Linked DNA regions of Homo sapiens: region 1 is linked to region 2. The links are contacts of gene promoters, found by promoter capture Hi-C in human tissues and cell types (Jung and others, 2019). All regions are on one chromosome and are shown on one strand. Each heading gives the region's core, a stretch centred on a gene start or on the middle of the fragment in contact. The rest is flanking DNA. Distances are from core to core; before and after follow the strand shown.

Region 1 (5,008 bases), core at 649-3,148, 53 kb after region 2:
TTGGATACTTGGAAAGCTTTCTCAAGGACAGGTGTAAACAGGCCCAGAATGCAAAGATTGGAATAAATACCTAACTCTTCAATACCCAGACACCAGCAAACATCCACAAGCATCAGAAACATCCAGGAAGCATGACCACACCAAATGGACTAAATAAGAGACTAAGGGCAAATCCCAGAGAGACAGAGACATGTAATCTCTCAGAGATTTCAAAATAGGTGTTTTAAAAGACAATGAAATTCAAGATAACACAGAGAAGAAATTTAGAATCCCGTCAGATAAATGTAACAAAAAGATTGAAATAATTGTTAAAAATCATGTAAAAATCCCAAAGCTAAAAAATACAATTGATAAATGGAAGAAAGCTTCAGATTCTCTCAACAGCAAAGTGGATTAAGTGGAAGAAATAATTAGTGACCATGAAGACAGGCTGCTTAAAAATATACAGGCAGAGGAGACAAAAAAGAATAAAATGGAATGAAACATGCCTGCTTGGCCGGGCGCGGTGGCTCATTCCTGTAATCCCAGGACTTTGGGAGGCTGAGGTGGGTGGATCACGAGGTCAGGAGTTCAAGACCAGCCTGGCCAAGATGGTGAAACCCCGTCCCTACTAAAAATACAAAAATTAGCCAGGTGCAGTGGCAGGCACCTATAATCCCAGCTACTTTGGAGGCTGAGGCAGGAGAATTGCTTGAAACCGGGGGGGTGGAGGTTGTAGTAGGCCGAAATCGCCGCATTGCACTCCAGCCTAGGCGACAGAGTAAGATGCCATCTCAAAAAAAAAAAAAAGGAAAAATGCCCACAAGATCTAGAAAATAGCCCCTAAAGGGCAGATCTAAGAGTAATTGGCCTTAAAAAAGAATTAGAGTGAGAGTCCAGGATACAAAGTTTATTTGAAGAGATAATAACAGAACTTTCCAGACCTAGAGAAAGATATCAATATTCAAGTACAAGAAGGTTATAGAATAACAAGCAGATTTAACCCAAATAATATTACCTCAAGACATTTAATAATCAAACTCCCAGAGGTCAATGCTTTCCTTCAACAGATAGTATTTATTGAGCACTTTTTGTATACCAGGCACTGTTCTGGATACTGAGGATGGAGCAGTGGGCAGTGAACAAAACAAACAAAATCCTTCTTCTCATGGAGCTGATACTTCAGTGGGAAGAGACAGGCAAGAAAAAAAAAAAAGGAAGAGGGAAAGCCGCTAAATGCTAAGTGTCAATAAATGTTAAGTAAAATGGGGGCAGAAAAGCAAAGACAGAAAAGCACCCTACCCCAATGGGGGTAGGGTGGATCTTGGATAAGATAGTCAGCAAAGGCCTCCATGGAAGGCCAAAATAAAAAGTGAGAATTGCTCTAGATTAAAAGAGACCCCTGAAACATGTCAACCAAATGCAAAGCGTAAGTCTTGATTACATTCTGGCCTTAAAAATGCAAACTTAAAAACATTTTTTTTGATGAAAACTTGGAAGATTTGAATATAGATTGCATATTAGATGATGGTGTAAAATTATTAATTTTTCAGGTAAGGAGATGGTATTGTCATTATGCAGAGGGTATCCTTTCAGGAAGTTTATGCTGACAGTTTTTGAATTGTTTTAGTGTCTGTAGTTTACTTTCAGATGGTTCAACACATAGAGGAAGAACTAAAGCAAATGTGGCAAAACATAACAATTGGTAAATATGATGAAGGTGTAAGGGTGTTATTACAGTATTCTTTAAAATTTTATGTATGTTTGAAATGTTTTCAAAATAAAAACTTGGCAGAAAAAAAGATGGAATTTAGGGTTGTTGGAGTCGATCTGAGTTTTCATCACCAGGTGGTGCTAAAGCTTTTCAAATGTAGTTAAATTAACAGCAAACAATCTGTGCTGACAGTTGCATATTAATTTAGGAAAAATTTGGGTGGGAGGAACATAGACTATAAATCAAGCTTTTTAAATTTGCCAATTTTACTCTTGCTTGCATTATTATATTTTACACAATTTGAAGAGGTTCAGCTATACGTTTTCTGGCTGTCAGTTTCCTTCTCTTCGACCTTTCTCATTTCCAGGCCCTTATTTTCTTCTCACAAAAGAGCTACTGTGATAATTCCCAACACCAGATGCCACTGTGATCCACACTGCTCACAGAGTAACCTTCGTGCAGCATTTCTGTCCCCTTCATCAGCTCCCTATTCCCCTCCAAATAGTTTCCACTCCTCAGCAAAGAATTTACAGTTTGATACCAATCTTCTTTTCCCAGTGTATCTATTATTGTTGCCTTGCATTAACCCTACTCAGGAGAAACATTGACTGCTGTCCTTTTTTTTTCAAATAAATGTCATACACTTTCTTGCCACTGACTATTCTGCTTTGTGTGTCTCCATACTCCCAATGCCCTTCTGCCTATTGCCAGTTCAAAATCTGACCTTGCCCATCATTGAAGCCTGAATTAAATATCATTTCCCTCATGACAATTTCCCCAAACACCTTACTCAGAAATATTCCTCTTTCTACAGCACTTTTAAATTTTCTTACCAAACTGATAACATTTTGTATTACATAATAATGTGTGTACACTAAATTATAAACACCTCCAAGGTAGGCAGTTTATGTTTATAGTCTTTGGATTGTGTTTAATATGATGTGGAATTTACTAAAGGTCAGTGGAATTGAATTTCAAGATTATTCAGAAGTAGTTTATAGTAGTGGTAAAAGTACTGACTAATTACCACCAACTGCCAGCCTTACTCTGGTTGTTCATTTCACAGATAAGCAATGAGAGGCCACCATAGTGAGAAACCAACCTGGATAAAGGATGTTCATGGCTTAGCAGCCCCACCTACCAAAAAAAAAAGTTATCAATTTGAAGTAAAATTTCCTTTCAATTTGAGTCTGTCAAAACCCTTAAATTCTTGAATGTCATTTGATCTATATATTCTTCTAGGTAAAAACATGAAAAGAATGATCAAAGATTTGCTTTAAGAATATTTCGTATATGTTACAAAATATGTTTGTAAAAGCTAAAAATTAGAAGCAGCCTAACCAACAATACAAAGTTGGTTAAAGACATTCTAATATATCCATACAATGAATTACTATGGAGCTATTAAAAATGGTGCTCGAGAACAATATTTAGTGGCATAGAAAGAGGCCCCCAGTGTTATTATAGGAAAAAAAATACACCATATTGTTGACATAATGCTTTTTAATAGAAGAAAAGATTTGCATAGAGAAAATACTAAAATTGATGGCAGAGATATATTTCTAGATTTGGAGATTGACCGATTTAAATTTTCTCTCTTGCTATCTTTTTTCCCCCTAAGTTTTAACTCTGAGCACCTATATTAAGCAAACAATAAAAATATTTAGGAGAGAAATTATATTCCTAATGTTATTCCATTGTGTACATTCATTAATGAAGGAAGGAATTTCAGGCTCTAACATTGTTACTTGGGCCTAACATAGAACCAGAGGATAAGAAGGCCAAATGATAACCCAAGAGAAGACAGTATCGGAGGTCAGAAAAGGTAAGAAAGCCAGGTAGAAAAAAATGAGGGTTGAAGAGTGGGGTTACCATGCTCAGGAAAGGAGGGAGGCGGGAATACAAGTAGGAGAGCTGTAAGAATCTAGTAGATACCAAGATTGTAATGAAATAGAAAGGTAACTGCATTTAGAAATCTGGGTCCAATATTTAGTATTATTGTTTATTAGATAGGTACTCTTGAGTAAATCATTTATGTTTTCAAGGGTCAGAAAATACCTTGAAGGTATTTTTATTCCCATGTTACAAGTGAGCAAAGTAGCCCTCAGAAAATATAAATGAGGTCATATATATACATAAGCTAGGGTTTCTCAGCTTTAGCTCTATTGGCATTTTGGGCCAGACATTTTATTGTGGGAGCTGAACAAGCACATTTGTATGGGATAATAAGTGATGATGTCAATTTTAATAAAGAGGAAGTTGCCCAGTGAGAAGGAAAGCAGGTGAGAGACATTTTGTAGTTAAAGAAACTAAAATTTTACCAATTTACATAAAATCTCCCTAAATACTCAGTGTACACATCTCACCAAGGAGTGTTTTCCCCTGGTAGGGGACTTTAGAGAACTCCAATACCTATAGTTGGCAGGCATATATGTCCCAGATCTATATAAGTCAAATCAAGCCACTAGCATATGCATCTTATGTAATAGATTTTAAGCTCAATCTTTTTCAGAATGGGGTCTTTTATATCTTTCCTGTCTATGCTGAGATGAATCCCAAGGGGGCCCAGATATGTATATGAGGATGAGTCATTGTCCCTGATATGGATAAGTGAAAAGGGTAGGGAAAAGGGTTTCTGACCCTGATAGAGCTATTTATGGGTAGGGAGGACTCTAATTCTTGAAATCATGATAGAATGTTAAAGTCTCCCGCATTTGGAGTATATGTTGTTTGCATTAATCCCATTTATTTTTAAAAGAAATATTATTACTTACATAGTTCACCCCAACTTTATTTCAAATTGGGACTATTAATTAAAATAGAAATTTAATTTTATGTTAATTTGAGGGTTACTTTTTTGGAAAAAAAAAGCCTTTCTCATACACAACTTAAACACTTGCATGCTTTTAAAGATAAAACAAGAACAACAAAAAAGTAGAATTTATTATGTAATTCTACCACCCAGATAGACCCAGTATGAATATTTTGGTGTATACCCTTTCAGAGTTCTTAAATTGGGGGTTCTGGATCCAGCCTGTACATTAGGTTCACCTGAAGAGCTTTGAAAATAAGACTATGTCTAGTCTCATCCCAGAACAAATAAACCAGAATACCTGGGGGATGGAGCAGTCCTGGGTAATTTTTTTTTTAACTTCACAGGTGATTTTAATGTACAGACAGGGTTGTGAACCACTCTTAAATGAATGACAGATTAGTGCTGAAGCACTAGGCCAAGCACTGGCTGAAGCAGCTAGGCCAAAATAAAAGATGCTGGTGCCTTCAGCTAAGTGGTACTTTGGCTGTAGTTGGCATTGA
Region 2 (5,068 bases), core at 768-3,267:
AAAGAAACAAAACATCCAGGAGGGATGTTTTAAATTAGAACAAGAAATATTTTACAACAGAGAGAATAGTACTTTTACTAAACATTGGACTTAATTGCAATATGCAGTCACTTGGCCTGAGAACACTAATAAGTATTTGACTTTTTAAAAAATGCAAGAATGTGAAAAAAATAGCAAACTAGCAATAATCCTAGAAAAGTACATGTGTTAAACATCACTATTTCTCCAATTTCTAAGATAGCTGGTGCCTAATAATTGGTTAGAAAAACCTACAAAACTACTCTTGGGTTTTGTCAAATTATTACTGATAGTACAAAGTATTTGCACCTTGAAGAAACAAGCAACATTCTAAAGAAAATCAGTGCTTACTTGATAATCATTTCTCTTAATATTTGGAACATCCATGTTGTGAGTAGAAGGACAAATATCTTCATATTTTTTGCCCGTGAAAATATCAATTCCAACAAGGTGAACCTAACAGAGGAGAACAGGAAACCTGTTTAATCTCTGCCAAGTATATCACTCATTACACACACAAGAGCACAATACCAATGCTGATTACAACAGATTCTTTTTCTCCTCCTTCCAAGGTCATCTAATTTTACTTAAAAAAAAATGTAGTGGTCTTACAATTAAGAGGCAGTAAACAACTAAACAGTATCACGACATGTCAAGACCCAATATAGACCAGTGATTCAATTATGAGATTACACAAGAAAAATAAAGTGTAGATTTCTTAGAATTGCTAGAACAGGTTTTCTCATCTGTAAACTAAATAGATCTTATAGGTCACTAGGATTCAGGAAAGTTTCAGTTCCCAGTTAATGAACATTGTAAGGGCCCAAGAAGGGAATGCTACCTTTAAGTATTCAACGTAATAACTGATTACCCAGTAATTGTGGGAAGGAAAAAATAGTGCTTATTACAAAATTTTAAGTATAGAAATCTCATGATCTGTAACGGAATACAAATGATCAAAGTCCCAACGCCGAAGCCAAAGCCTGATCTGCAAGGGTACTTACCTTGGCATGACCATGCTTTCCAGTTTTGGAAGTTGACATCTCCACTATTTTGCATGGTCGTCCTTTGAGCACCACGAAGCCGTTTTTGCGCAAGGCCGAGCACTGCATAGGGTAAGTGCTGGAAGCCCCGGCATCTCCAGTAGTGAAATCAATTTCGTCTGCCATGGTGGGCAGGGGAGATGGTAGTTTTTCCGTGGGAACTACACAAAAAGTTTGTGTTTGCTTTTTAACAACGGGTATGTAGGCAGGGAAACGTCTCATTTCGGACAAGTTATGTGCCAAGCATCATGGGCCCGTTATTTCTGCATGTAAGGAACACCCACCCTAGACTAGTGGCCACTTTCTAACTCTGGCCTCTACAAACTTTTCCAGCTACTGCTTGGGGAGGTGGGATGAGAAGTCGCAGAGGAGCTCGCTGAGGGTGGGGACACCCGCCCTGGGCGCTCCTCCGTGCTGGAAACAGCAGGTTGCGGCCCCCATCGCCCCACCGCAGAAGCCGGCGACCTTCCCCCGCCGCCCAGCCCTCGGCCGCCGCCCCGAACCCTACTGCGGGGGACCCAGCCCAGGCCGCAGGTCCCCGCGAAGGATGCGGGGTAACAGAACCTGGCCAGCAGCACCCGGCCCTCTGCTAGCTGGCGCGCACCCCGCCCTCCACCCTTCAACGTCGCCGCCGCGGCCGCACAGGCGCCCCCTGTTCTGCCGGCATCCAGGGCTCAGCTCGGCCCGGCCCGGCCCCACTAGGGCCTGAGCCCCGGCGGGTCCCGCGCTCGCCTCTGTTCCCCCATCCATTCTCCTTCTTTCTCTCGGTCAGCGCTCAGTTCTGGGCGCCTTCCCCGGCCCTGCCTCACTCTGGCCCCATCCCCACCAGCTTTTCCCCACCAGCTTTTCCCCAGGTCTTCACCTTTCAGCTGGCAAAGAGCGCCTTTCGTCTGCGCACCCGCGCTGGTCCCCTACAGCAGCGGCGCCGGCAGCGGCGGTGGCGGCCGCGGCAGTTCCAAGAGACGGGGCGGGGCCGCCACACTTTCCACACCCCAGCCTCCCCGCCCTTACCCGCCCCCACTCAGCCCTATTTCCGGGATAGGCCCCGGAGCGTCACAGGCACCGCCCTCTCGGGCTACCATTGGCTACCAGATTCCCGAGGCTCCGCCCAGTCACGTGAAGAGCGCCCTGGCAACCCCACGTGCTGCGGATTAGTGCACTTCCGGCGTGGAGCGCACTTTCAGCAGTCTGGTTGCCGAGGGTGAGCTCGCTGGCAGAGGAACTTGCGCCTTCCAACTCTTAGGTTTGTTGCGTTCGGGTCGCAGTCGACTTTAATGGGAACCAAGCAAAGCACCCAATGGCCCCTGCCATCAGGTGCGTGGCAGTTATCACATGACGATCGTCAGAACTCGCGAGGCGCGCAGATTCAGCGAGTGCCAGTGTGGCTGGCTGTGAAGCGAACTTTGGGTTCGAGCTTCTGGTTCAGCTTGCAGCCTTTCTTGGGGTTCGAACCTCCTCCTGGTCCTTAAAGAAGAATTCAGGTGCAGTATTTTATTACCCAGCTCGGCACCGCAGGTCCTGAGGACCCCCCATTCACCCCTTGGTGAGATTTTTGGCAGCGACTGCCGCCGGATGCCCCTGTAGAGTCAGCACTGCTCCCTGGGGTGGGAACTCCCGAAGCGTCCGCCAGCTAACAAGCCAGCAGTGAAATGAATTAACCCACTTCTCACACCAAAGGCTGTTGGGAAGTTGTGGAGGCGAAGGGTGTCTGACTCCTACGGCATTGTGGGTCCAGAGAGGTGTTCTGCCGACTCATCCATTCTTTCCTCCTGGCATTGGCATTCCTTAGAGTTTGGGGTTTAACCCTGGCACATTAGAACGCTTGGATGGTCTTCAAAATTGACCTAGAGCTTGTAGACTGCCATAGAAAGGTTCTTAAAAGAGATGTGCTCCCCCTTCACAGTTTCATTTCGCAACCTACCGCAGTATCCTATCTTGGGGAGGTGATCTAGGAAATTATTTCCCATCCCACACCCGCATTTATGTGGTAACTTTGATTTCCTATTGCTGTCTCATGAATAATCCCATATCTCACATTCCTGTATGACTCTACAGTTTACACATATCTTTCAAACAGGTCCAATTTAACTTTCGCAATAAGTTACTGCCCTCTCATGTACTGAATTCAGCCTCTAGCTAATATACAAAGGAGCCATTACAGCAGTGGCTCATGCCTGTAATCCCAGCACGTTGGGAGGCTGAGGCAGGTGGGTTCCCTGAGCTCAGGAGTTCGAGATCAGCCTGGGCAGCATCGTGAAACCCCGTCTCTACCAAAAATACGAAAACTTAGCTGGGCATGGTGCTGTGCACCTGTGGTCCCAGCTACTAGGGAGGTTGAGGTGGGAGGATCACTTGAGCCTGGGAGGTGGAGACTGCAGTGAGCCGAGATCCGGCCACTGTACTCCAACCTGGCTGACAGAGTGAGACCACCCCCCCCACCCCCAACACCCCAAAAAGAAAGAGCCAGATTAGAATCTTGGTTCATTAGCTCTTTCTGCTTTTCCTTATACCTCCTAACTTTTCCCTATTGTTTTTACAATGATCGCTAATAGTATTTAGTATTTATATAGGCAGGTAGTGTACTAAATTTTTGATGTGCATTATTCCTTTGTTTGTCACTGCTGCTTTCTATTTTTAACCTTGTTAAGTTATTCATATAAAGAAAAATTTGTCCCTTTTCTTTTTATGAGTTTTGAAAAACATATCTTGATCATCTGCTATGATCAAGATATGGAATATTTCCCTCATTCCAAAAGTTTTCTAGTGGCTTTTTGTTCTCAGTTTCCTCCCTCTACACCCAGCCCCTGGCAAATATTAACAGTACTTTTTTAACCTGCATTTTTAGTTACGGAAAAAGGAGAAAAGCAATTTGCCCCAGATTACAAAGCTAGTAAGTTGGAAAACCAAGGTTGGAACCTAGGCAGTTTGGTTCCAGAGTCACTGCTCTACCTACCACCATATACTGCATTCACAAAAGATTTGGGTTTGGAATCAAATGACTGAGCATTACTCATTCAATAAATACAGTCAGTTCTCCTGAAGTCAGTAAGAACACTGAATTGGCAAATACTAAACCATTGCTCCTAGGGGAAATACAGGGTTAGGTTCCTCTGAGCCTCTGGGCCACAACATTGGTTAATATGTGATTTTTAGTGTGTTTCCATTTAAAGACACCTGATTTCCTATATATTGTTGGTTCATTAACATTAAACTCATGGCCAACAGCAATGTAATTCATACCTGAAGGTAGCTTATCTAACATATGCTCTCTGTAAGGCACACTGTAGCTTTCTTGTGTTTTGGAACATTAGACAGCTCTTCAGCACAGTGCTTGGGGGCCATTTTGAATGGTGAAATCACCAACAAAAAGCACAACAATGCAAAAACTGGCAATAAATAGACTGAAAAGAATACTGGTTAACAGTTTGACGACTGAAACAAGAAGGCAGAGCATGGCTGAGTTTGACCTCAGCTAAATGTGCGTTAGATGGCACGAGTCTCTGTGCATGTTCACAAATGACTTCAAAAGCACTGCAAGTATTGATTTTAAGATTATAAGTAAATTATGTCAAGTATGCAAATTTGCAAATATGGAATCCAAAAATAATGAAGATTGACTATGTGTACTTTAGCAGCCTTACCTCTGGTATTACTGTGTTGACCAAGACAGCCTCTGGTTCCTAAGGTGCTTGCAGTCTATTGCAGAAGACAGTCTAGTAATTTTAAAATATGAAACAAATGCTAGTAAAGAAATAACTATAAGGCACTGAAAAAAGGGGCTTATTTAGGCTAGGTGGTGTCCAATTAAAATATGATACAAGCCACATATAGTTTTGAGTTTTCTTTTAGACACATAAAGTTAAAAAATGAAACTAATTTCAATAGTATATTCTGTTTAACTGAATATGTCCAAAATATTATTTCACATGTAACCAATATAAAAATATTACTAAGATATTTTACTTTTTATCCATACTAAGCCTTCAAAATCTGGTGTATTTTACACT

Evidence for each region. Contacts are between HindIII fragments. The study calls those that stand out against the background at their distance.
Region 1: a fragment that was not itself captured here is called in contact with the fragment with the promoter of EIF5A2 in region 2 in 2 of the 25 tissues and cell types used here (hippocampus and stomach).

Annotation. Positions count from the first base shown.
Region 1 is chr3:170,959,905-170,964,912 of GRCh38, forward strand. No RefSeq gene overlaps it. Among named protein-coding and RNA genes, the nearest start is that of EIF5A2, 54 kb to the left of the region's middle. The HindIII fragment of the contact is 3,416 bases long and covers 191-3,606 here.
Region 2 is chr3:170,906,620-170,911,687 of GRCh38, forward strand. It overlaps EIF5A2 (eukaryotic translation initiation factor 5A2), which reads right to left and starts at 2,018. Exons shown (of 5, transcript NM_020390.6): 1 at 1,924-2,018; 2 at 1,023-1,222; 3 at 370-474. The coding sequence starts at 1,187. RefSeq lists a silencer at 1,539-1,678. The HindIII fragment of the contact is 14,095 bases long and covers 1-5,068 here.